Regions from separate parts of the Homo sapiens genome. Here region 1 is linked to region 2. Evidence: promoter capture Hi-C in 16 types of primary human blood cells and fetal thymus (Javierre and others, 2016). All regions are on one chromosome and are shown on one strand. Each heading gives the region's core, a stretch centred on a gene start or on the middle of the fragment in contact. The rest is flanking DNA. Distances are from core to core; before and after follow the strand shown. Region 1 overlaps BICD1 (BICD cargo adaptor 1). Region 2 holds the start of BICD1 (BICD cargo adaptor 1).

The links. The method cuts DNA at HindIII sites, captures the fragments that hold promoters and counts their contacts. A CHiCAGO score of 5 or more calls a contact.
Region 1: a fragment that was not itself captured here is called in contact with the fragment with the promoter of BICD1 in region 2 in 1 of 17 cell types (M2 macrophages); the score reaches 5.4 in M2 macrophages.

The regions. Positions count from the first base shown.
Region 1 is chr12:32,327,687-32,333,355 of GRCh38, forward strand. It overlaps BICD1 (BICD cargo adaptor 1), which reads left to right. Exons shown (of 10, transcript NM_001714.4): 5 at 1-869. Among named protein-coding and RNA genes, the nearest start is that of FGD4, 69 kb to the right of the region's middle. The HindIII fragment of the contact is 4,608 bases long and covers 906-5,513 here.
Region 2 is chr12:32,103,012-32,108,116 of GRCh38, forward strand. BICD1 (BICD cargo adaptor 1) reads left to right here and starts at 3,836. Exons shown (of 10, transcript NM_001714.4): 1 at 3,836-4,533. The coding sequence starts at 4,321. BICD1-AS1 (BICD1 antisense RNA 1) reads right to left here and starts at 4,451. Exons shown (of 3, transcript NR_185992.1): 1 at 4,383-4,451; 2 at 1,665-1,762; 3 at 1,106-1,279. RefSeq lists a silencer at 3,359-3,838 and enhancers at 4,199-4,278, 4,806-5,105. The HindIII fragment of the contact is 11,162 bases long and covers 3,339-5,105 here.

The DNA of each region.
Region 1 (5,669 bases), core at 1,960-4,459, 220 kb after region 2:
ATGGTTTAGAGATCCTTGAATGCAAATACAGGGTGGCAGTAACTGAGGTGATTGATCTGAAAGCTGAAATTAAGGCCTTAAAGGAGAAATATAATAAATCTGTAGAAAACTACACTGATGAGAAGGCCAAGTATGAGAGTAAAATCCAGATGTATGATGAGCAGGTGACAAGCCTTGAGAAGACCACCAAGGAGAGTGGTGAGAAGATGGCCCACATGGAGAAGGAGTTGCAAAAGATGACCAGCATAGCCAACGAAAATCACAGTACCCTTAATACGGCCCAGGATGAGTTAGTGACATTCAGTGAGGAGTTAGCTCAGCTTTACCACCATGTGTGTCTATGTAATAATGAAACTCCCAACAGGGTCATGCTGGATTACTATAGGCAGAGCAGAGTCACCCGCAGTGGCAGCCTGAAAGGGCCCGATGATCCCAGAGGACTTTTGTCCCCACGATTAGCCAGGCGGGGTGTGTCATCCCCGGTAGAAACAAGGACCTCATCTGAACCAGTTGCAAAAGAAAGCACAGAGGCCAGCAAAGAACCAAGTCCAACTAAGACCCCCACAATCTCTCCTGTTATTACTGCCCCACCGTCATCTCCAGTATTGGATACAAGTGACATCCGCAAAGAGCCAATGAATATCTACAACCTTAATGCCATAATCCGGGACCAAATCAAGCATCTGCAGAAAGCTGTGGACCGGTCCTTGCAACTGTCTCGTCAAAGAGCAGCGGCTCGGGAGCTAGCCCCCATGATTGATAAAGACAAGGAAGCCTTAATGGAAGAGATCCTCAAGCTAAAGTCCCTGCTGAGCACCAAACGGGAGCAGATCGCCACATTGAGGGCGGTGTTGAAAGCCAACAAGCAGGTAATCTCATTCTACTGGTGAAAGCATGCCAGTCAAAGCTTTCTTAACTAATTTATTCCCTAATTTTATTGAGTATCGAGTATCGTCAAGATGAGAGTTCAGATTCTTGGTAAGTGGATAAATAAAACTGTCCCAGTGCCAGATCAGAATGTCATAATAATTATTGTTTTTAAATGATGAAATACCTGTGCCCAGTTAGGTGGAGGCAGAGGTGAGGAACTTAAAGCAGGAACACAGGAGAAGATCTAGATGCCTTTCTGCAGATGTAGAAAGGCAGCTCAGGCGGTGCTGGGCTGAAGCCTGGCAGTGAGTGGCTGTGGAAACAGGAGATGGAGGGTGGCAGAATAGGCTGGCAAGGCAGGTTACACCAACCAGGGCGATACAGCAAGAAAGACAAACACCCAGCAGGCAGCTAGAGCAAACAGAGGGAAATCTGGGTACATATGGTGAAGAAGGTCTGATGGCCAATAACTGGACCCCAGCTTTGGAGCTGGAGGTTCAGATTCAAGACTCAATTTCTAGGAGTATAGCAAAATTATTATTATTATTATTTTTTATTTTTGTTTTGAGACAGAGTCTCGCTCTGTTGTCCAGGCTGGAGTGCACTGGCGCCATCTCTGCTCACTGCAACCTCCGCCTCCTGGGTTCAAGCGATTCTCATGCCTCAGCCTCCGAAGCAGCTGAGATTACAGGCATGTGCCACCATGCCTGGCTAACTTTTTGTGGAGACAGAATTTCACCATATTGTCTAGGCTGGTCTCGAACTCCTGACCTCAAGTGATCCGCCCACCTCGGCCTCCCAAAGTGCTGGGATTACAGGCATGAACCACCGCGCCCAGCCAAGTATAGCAAGATTAAAAGGAGTGTTTTGTCCTTCATCCCAAACTTAGAGAAACAAGAGCGCTAAATAAATGAATAAGTCAGGGATGAAAGGCAAGACAACTGTGAGGACCTGAGTGAGTAACAGAAACAAAGCCAGACAGATTGTTACCAACAAATTAAATAGTTTGGGGCCACTTTAGCAAGGAAATAATAGAGAGTGTGTGTGAGAGAGTATAAGAATGAGCTCTACCTGTGCTACTGACCACGTATCTGAAATTTAGGTTCATTTGGGATGTTAACCCACCTGGGTCAGAGGTTAAGTAATAGGGAGCTTTTCCTAGCTATTGATCTTGTCCTTCTGGACAAGTAGTAATGTTACAACATGAACCTGTCTAATTCCCAGCCCTCCTTAATGACTGAAATTGTTTTCACCCTGAGTTTTACCTTGGTGGGAGTGCTGCGAAATATAGGCAGGAAAATTATTTTCACCTTTATTTAGTTTATCTGAAAAGATATTCTTGAAAGACACATATTTGAGAAAGGTGCTGAATAAATGTTGGTGTTGATAAAGAGAAGCAACAAAGCACCAAATACCCTCCTGCAAACGCAAGCAGTGCCAGTGAATAGTAGGTCAAGGGAGCTCTTGGTCTTTGGAGAATGAGGATTAATTTCAGATTCAGAGTGTCTTCTCCATTTGCCATCATCTGGGGAAAACCACGCCCTTATTATCTCATCTACAGTGCAGCTTTCAAGTCCTCATCTCTAGTTCCCATAAATCTATTTATATAATTGACATCTATACCATAAGCCATAATATTGTTTGCACTATTAACATGTTTTATATAAACCTAAGGGCAAAATATGACTTTATTTTATGTTGTCACTTTAGAGAAATAGAAAAGATTAGAGTGAATGAAACCATCATTCTCAGCAAACTATCGCAAGGACAAAAAACCGAACACCACAAGTTCTCGCTCATAGGTGGGAATCGAACAATGAGAACACATGGACACAGGAAGGGGAACATCACACACCGGGGCCTGTTGTGGGGTGGGGGGAGGGGAGAGGGATAGCATTAGGAGATTTACCTAATGTAAATGACGAGTTAATGGGTGCAGCACACCAACATGGCACATGTATACATATGTAACAAACCTGTACGTTGTGCACATGTACCCTAGAACTTAAAGTAAATTAAAATATATATATATAAAATAAATAAAATAAAAAAAGAAAAGATTAGAGTGAATGAAGAATTTGTGAGAGATCTGACTCTAATTTTAGGTCGGAATAAAGGAATTTATTATTGTAACTCTGCTATAATTTAAAGACCCAATGATTCAGAGTGGTCATAAATAACCAATACCATATTAGATAAGGCTTACACAAGGACATGCTATCCTGGGGCATTCTTGATCAAGCCATCCAGATAACTTCTCTGACTTCTTCCTAAAGGTTGAATATTAACAATTTAGGTCTGGGCGCAATGGCTCACGCCTGTAATGCCAGCACTTTGGGAGGCCAAGGCCAGTGGATCACTTGAGGTCAGGAGTTTGAGACCAGCCTGACCAACATGGAGAAACACCGTCCCTACTAAAAATACAAAATTAACCAGGCGTGGTGGCGGGTGCCTGTAATCCCAGCTACTCGGGAGGCTGAGGCAGGAGAATCACTTGAACCCCGGGGGGCGGAGGTTGCGGTGAGCCTAGATTGCATGATTGCACTCCAGCCTGGGCAACAAGAGCGAAAATCTGTCTTAAAAAAAAAAAAATCAAGATGCTTAACTGAAACAGAGGTATAGATAAGGACACTTGGCCAACCAACAGAGACTAATTTGTGAACAAGCATTCATTGATTACATATTTTCTGGGAGGCAGTAAGTAGGGATGCAAAAATAAATGACATAATCTAGTAGGAATTCCGCAATTGCCTGTAGCTGTTTACAAGACAGGACTTATCAAGCACTTTAGAGTGATGTAAACAGTACCACAGGAAATCAGAACAGAACAAAGCATTCCTAGCTGAAGTTTTATTTTCACTGTGCTTTGTGGTACAGGTTGAGTATCCCTTTTCCGAAATGTTTTGGGGGACAAGAAATGTTTCAGATTTTGGATTTTGGACATTTGCATATATACATAATGAGTTATCTTGGGGATGGGATCCAGGTCCAAACATGAAATTTACTTATGTTTCATGTATTCCTATATACATAGCCTGAAGGTAATTTTATACAATTTTTTTAATGATTCCGTGGCTGAAACAAAGTTTTGACTGCCACTCATGACATGAGGTCAGGTGTAGAATTTTGTGGCTCATGTCAGCACTCAAAAGGTTTCAGATTTTGAAGCATTTTGGATTTTGGATTAAGGATGCTCAACCTGTACCATTTGCATTACATTAGAGTTACAGTCTATATGGGCTCAGTAAATTAAATGAAAACACATTTCTAGCAATGCATTTGGTCTGCACGTTCATGATGTTGGGGCTGTTGCTGTGATGCTTATTGCCGTAAATAGCTTCAAGTATTAACAGATGACATTCACTATATTTATTTAGACATTGTGAAATGTTTGTTTTTAAGGTTAAGGTGAGAATTCTGGGGTACAGGGGAAAAAAGGAAATCTCCCTGTTTTAAAATAGGCATTCTACTATACAGCCATAAGAAAGAAAAGAATGAGATCATGTCATTTACAGGGACATGGTTGGAGCTGGAGACCATTATCCTTAGCAAACTAACACAGGAACAGAAAACCAGATACCGCATGTTCTCACTTATAAGTGGGAGCTAAATGATGAGAGCAAATAGACACATAGAGGGGAACAACACACACTGGTTCCTGTTGGAGGCTGAAGGATGAGAGGAAGGAGATGATCAGGAAAAATAACAAATGGATACTAGGCTTACATACCTGGTGAAGAAATAATTGGTACAACAAACCCCCATGACACACATTTACCTATGTAACAAACCTGCACATCCTGCAGCTGTACCCCTGAACTTAAAAGTTAAAAATAAATAAATAGGCATTCTGTAGTCTCTATGAATCTTCTCATTTACTTAAGGATTTTTTCATAGGCACAGTGCCTTCTGATGAAGTCAGTAAATGCTTATGAAGCACCGTCCATCTAGCACTGTGCTAGATGCTGAAGATTCAAAGAAGACTAACACATGGTCCCTGCCTTCCAGAAGACTCAGCCTCCTGGGGATGTCAGGATAGAAACACAATTACAGTTCAACGTTACACATGCTGTAATCCAAGTTATGAGAACAATGCAGAGGAAGCAACTAAGGTTTCCTAGAGGAGCGGAAAAGACTTCACAGAAGCAATTATACCTTAGTTTGTTATTAAAGGATAAGAAGTTGTTTTCCAGAGGAGGAGGAAGTAATTCCAGACAGAACAGTAGGTAGAGAGGCTTTGGAGTGACAAAATAGAATAATATATTCAGGGAATGCTCACAAAGGCCTATGTGGCTGGAAATAAGACTTTTTTTATTTAGAAAGTCAACTTTGGAATGTGTGGAGAAAGTGGTGAAAGCAGAAATCAGCAAATCCAGTGAGTTATGGATACTTAAAATTACTTAATTCTGGAAAAACTTTGCACAGTCAATGGACAAACAAATCTACAAACAAAACTGAGGCTTTGGGGTATTTGTCACAAACAATAAATGATTTTGTATTTCTGTTTCAGATCTAGCTCTTCTGTTATCCCCCATTTTATTCCCCTTAGATACTGACCATGGGATTCTATGTGCTTACAAATTTGTTACATCTACATTTCACAACTTAAACATACTTTTCTGTTTTAAATGAATATGTGTCTAAGCTTTTTAAACACTAAACAACTGCCGTTTTTCCCCAGGTCAATTTCTGCCTTGTGGATAATTTTCTGAATCTGTAATATTTCTGAAGATTCCTCCAAGTATTTACAGAACATACAGAAGTATTTTATGAGTAAAGTCTCATTTTAATCTGAATTT
Region 2 (5,105 bases), core at 2,586-5,085:
ATAGATAATAAAATGAATATCACTTCTTCAGAGAGATCTCTACTGATTATCTTTTTTTCTTCTTTCTACCTAAATTTTATCCTTGTTTTTCTTTTAAAACTTTTAAAAAGCACATATAAAATGCTTATGTGTGTGATACTATTCTATTCACAACAATCTCATAATTAGATTATATTATTATCTCCTTTTTAGATATGACACAACTGAGAAACACACAGCTAGTAAGTGGCAAAGTTGGATATGACCCAAGTAGACTAGCTTGTGCTTTTTTTTTTTGCTTTTTTTCTTTTCTTTTTTTTGAGACGGAGTCTCACTCTGTCACTTGGGCTAGAGTGCAGTGGCGGATCTCTGCTCACTCCAACCTCCAACTCCCGAATTCAAGTGATTCTCCTGCCTCAGCCTCCCGAGTAGCTGGGATTACAGGCGCCCACCACCACACCCAGCTAATTTTTGTATTTTTAGTAGAGATGGGGTTTCACCATGTTGGTCGGGCTGGTCTCGAACTCCTGACCTCAGATGATCCGCCCACCTCGGCCTCCCAAAGTACTGGGACTACAGGTGTAAGCCACCGAGCCTGGCCTTTTTTTCTTTTCTTTTGGTGAGTCTTGCTTTGTCACCAGGCTAGAGCACAGTGGCACAATCAGTACATTGCAGCCTTAATCTCTTGGGTTCAAGCCATCATACTGCCTCAGCCTCCTAAGTATTGGGGACCACAGGCATGTATTACCATGCCCAGCTAGTATTTTTTAATTTTTTGTAGCCATGAGGTCTCGCTATGTTGCCCAGGCTGGTCTTGAACTGCTGGCCTCAAGTGACCCTTCTGCCTCAGCCTCCCAAAGTGCTAGGATTACCAGTATGAGCCACCACACCCAGCCTAGGAATGCTTTAAGAAATTATTTTCTATATACCTGTCATTGATATATATGCAATACATATGGCATATACGAAAAAAGAGGGAACTGTAACTATGCAGTACTGGAACAGCATGGTGTATAGGAAAATAAATTTGGCTGGGCATGGTGGCTCACATCTGTAATCCCAGAACTTTGGGAGGCCAGGGTGGGAGGATCACTTGATCCCAGGAGTTTGAGACCAGCCTGGGCAACATAGACAGACCCTGTCTCTACAAAAATTTAAAAAATTAGCTGAGTGTGGTGGTATTCATCTGTAGTTCCAGCTACTCAGGAGGCTGAGGTGGGAGGATCGCTTGAGTCCAGGAGGTTGAGGCTGCAGGGAGTCATGATCATGCCACTCCACTCCAGCCTAAGTGATGGAGACCCTGTCTCAGAAAAAAAGAGAAAAAAAACAAGAAAATAAGTTTATCTTCTTTACGTTAAATACCAACATTTAAGGATCAAAGTTCAACTAAGCAACATCTTAAAGTGTCAGAGTGTGCAAGACATGCCTGAAATCAGACAAAAGTGACAAGTGACAAAAGTGTATCAATCAGAAAAACGGGGCAGGATAGAGCATAGGGGCTGGACCACAATGGAAATTTAGCAAAAAGGAAAGTCACAGAGGCAAACTCTGTTCTTAGTTTGATCCAAAGGAGAGGGAGGCACAGGCAATCTAGTGCGAGTCTTATGATCCCTTTGGAAGGCCTATGCTTACAGTTTGTAGAGTGAGGAACAGCCAGAGGCTTCCTGGGAAGGCAGGTTAGCTACCTGCAATTGCAGGTTCCATCTCTTTTCAGCAGTTCATCATCATTCATCAACGTGTCAGAGGTCAGATGCCACGGGAGCACACAGGAGGGGCTTCCCACCTGGAGTGCGAGATAAGGAAAGATGGGTCGGATGTTGTAGTCATTATCATCCGCTTCTCTACAAGGCTGGAATTTATGGTGGCTGCACATTTGGAATGTTTTCTCCTTTTATTTATTTATTTTTAGATCAGACAATCACAAGAGAATATTCTTTTGTTTTATTTTTAGATCAGACAATCACATGAGAATATTCTGTTGTGATCGCTGGCGTTTAGAAGGAAACTTGTCTGGTTTGTGAAGCAATGGAAAACACATCCAGACAGCCTGCTAGTGGAAACTTTGGAAGGGCACTGTCATATGCTTTTTCTCCCACGCCATCAACAAGTGTCCTTTTTTTTTTTTTTTTTTGAGATGGAGTCTCTGTTGCCTAGGCTGGAGTATAGTGGTGCCATCTGTACCCTCCACCTCCTGGATTCAAGCAATTCTCCTGCCTCAGCCTCCCAAGTAGCTGGGATCACAGGCGTGCACCACCATACCTGGCTAATTTTTGTATTTTTAGTAGAGATGGGATTTCACCATGTGGGCCAGGCTAGTCTTGAACTCCGGACCTCAAATGATCCATCCACTTCTGCCTCCCAAAGTGCTGGGATTATAGGCGTGAGCCACTGTGCCCGGTCAACAATCATCTTTTTTTTTTTTTTTTTTTTTTTTACCAGGTACACAATGATGGGAGAGTTGAGTCCTGCTTTCTAACTTAGAAAACGCATGTGTGTTCATCACCTGGTCACTGAGAAACAGCTCTGGAATAGGTGCCATGCAGAAGAAGAGAGGGAACTGGAAAGACCCACTGATCTGTGGGTCTCACAGCCTCCCGTTACACAGAAATTGCTTCTTTTCTCTCATGTTGCGTTCTTCCTCTTGATTCTCGACCCTTCTCCACTCTTTCATTTACTCCACTCTTACTTTGCTTTCACCTCCTTTTGTAACCGTTCATCATCACTCTTCATATGGATTAATGTGATTATCTTAAAAGCATGTAATATGTAGTTGCTGGGTTTGTATGAGTAATGAGTGAACCTGAAGCCAACATAATGATCCCGTTTAGTGCTCCCGAGTTAAGATTCCAGAGTTGCCTGACTTTGGACAAATCACATCTCCCTTTGCCTTTCACCCCCTGTAAACTGAGGATAATGGCTCTTACCTCAAAGCATTGTTAGGATTGGAGAGAACGCATGTTACATACTTAGAAGAATGCTTGGTATGGGTCTCAAGAACTCTTAGCTCTTATTGTTTAAAAAATGCTTATTACAGGGCATCGTTGGTATCTTATATAGGGAATTTCAAGCAGTTTTCCTTTATTGAAGACACAGAGTAAGGTGCTTTGATGGAAACTATTGGGGCAAGATATACAGTACCTAGCTAGAGGTTTCCTGGGTGCATGTATTGTGGAGATATTTTTTTTCTGAGTGGATAGCGCTCTTGTGATACGCTGGGTGAGGGCGAGCAATATTTAGCGGACTGTCCTGTGAGGATAGTAAGGTTATCTGGTGAGAGTGTTAGGTGGCCCAGGCCAGACTTGGGAGAGGCAGGGAGAGAGGGGGACGACGGAGGAGGGCGCCTTGGGGTGCGTCTTGAAAGCTTTGGGAAACCCAGCGGTCTTTTGGGGGCAGGTGGCCCAAAAAGCCTTCTGCGCGCCCAGGGGACGAGGAGGATGCGCGGACCGCGACCGCGATAGTTTTGTTTGCTTTTCTCGGGAGAAAGCGTTCCAGGCAGTTTCCTGAGCTTCGGCCCTCGACGTAGCAAAAGAGCCCGGGCGCCCACGCCGCTCTCGGGGTCTTCTACTGCCACCGGGACAAAGCCCTGGGAGGAGCTCCCGCCCCCGCGAGCCGGACAGGGCGGAGGCTCCCCCGCCGCGCGCGCCCCACCGCTTCCCAGTCCCAGACCCGTCGCCTGCGCCTCCTCCTGGCGCGCCTCACGGTGCAGCGGGCGGCGGCCCGCGCGCCCGGCGGGAGGCGCCTCGGGATGTTTCCGTCTGGTCCTTCCCTCCGCCCCCCGCGCTGACTCCATCCGCTCCCCGCCCCCTGCTCGGAGCCGCCGCCACGCGGGAAGGGAGGGAGCCGGCCCCGAGACTGCATCATTCCGCACCGGCTGCTGCAGGGCCAGAGGGAGCAGGTGGAGCGAGAGAGCGAGCCGCGAGCCGGAGCGCGCCAGACCCAGGGCGAGACTGCAGTGACGCGGCCCGGGAGACATGGCGGACGGGCGTCTCTGAATAAGCAGAATCCGGAGCCCCTCGCTACCCGCGGCCGCCGCAGCCCGGGCCATGCCGCACGGCTGCTGACCGCACGCAGGGGCCGGCCCCGAGGACACATGCGGCGGCCTTTGCCGCCTCGCCCCTGACCCTCTGCCCTGTTCTCCATGTTGCATTTCTCGTCAGTTTCTCGGGCGGTGTAGCTGCCGCTGCCACCAGAGCCGGCGGGGCATCGCGCTGCTCATTCATCCGGCCGCACTTTCTTTTCCGTTTCCACCCATCCCTTCCCATTTCCTTCTCCCTTTCCCCGCCAGCTTCGCATCCATCTCCCCCACCCCGTAACCCCCTCCTGCCTCCATCCACCGGGGCTATGGCCGCAGAAGAGGTATTGCAGACGGTGGACCATTATAAGACTGAGATAGAGAGGCTAACCAAGGAGCTCACGGAGACCACCCACGAGAAGATCCAGGCTGCCGAGTACGGGCTGGTGGTGCTGGAGGAGAAGCTGACCCTCAAACAGCAGTATGATGAACTGGAGGCTGAGTACGACAGCCTCAAACAGGAGCTGGAGCAGCTCAAAGAGGTGAGTTGCCTGTCACCTCTCCCTTTCCTGGCCCTCACTCCCCCCACCCGCAAGGCCCACTCATCATGATCAAGAAGTCATAAAGGAGGTGATTGAAAGGACTGTTTTTTCTTCTAGGGCCCTTTGTTGGTAAGAGAAGATTGAAAGAGTCCATTGTTTCCTCCCCCAAGAGAAAAATTGCCTAAGAAATGAATATATAAGCTGGAATTTGGGAGGCAATGGCTGTTTGGCCTGCGGGGGAGGGAGATTAGTAAGAGTCATCAAGTCTCAGCACTCTAAGACGACATTCAAGTGGGTTGGAATGTATAAATCAAACTTCTCAAAACCGCTGTTATCTCAAACCCAGGTTTCAGCGACAATTTCGTAGTCCACAAAAGTGATGAGGTTTGTGCCTGAGGACCCACAATTTCAGGATTTAGACTGTGTGGCACCTCAGCTTTCCTCTGGATGTAACCACTCCTTGGTGAGAGAGGGAACTCCTCACCAATCCCATTTGACAAAGGCTAGGCAATCTTCATTCTGCTTGGCTTTAGTCATTCTTGTCATTGGGCTGCAGAAGAAAAACAACTTTG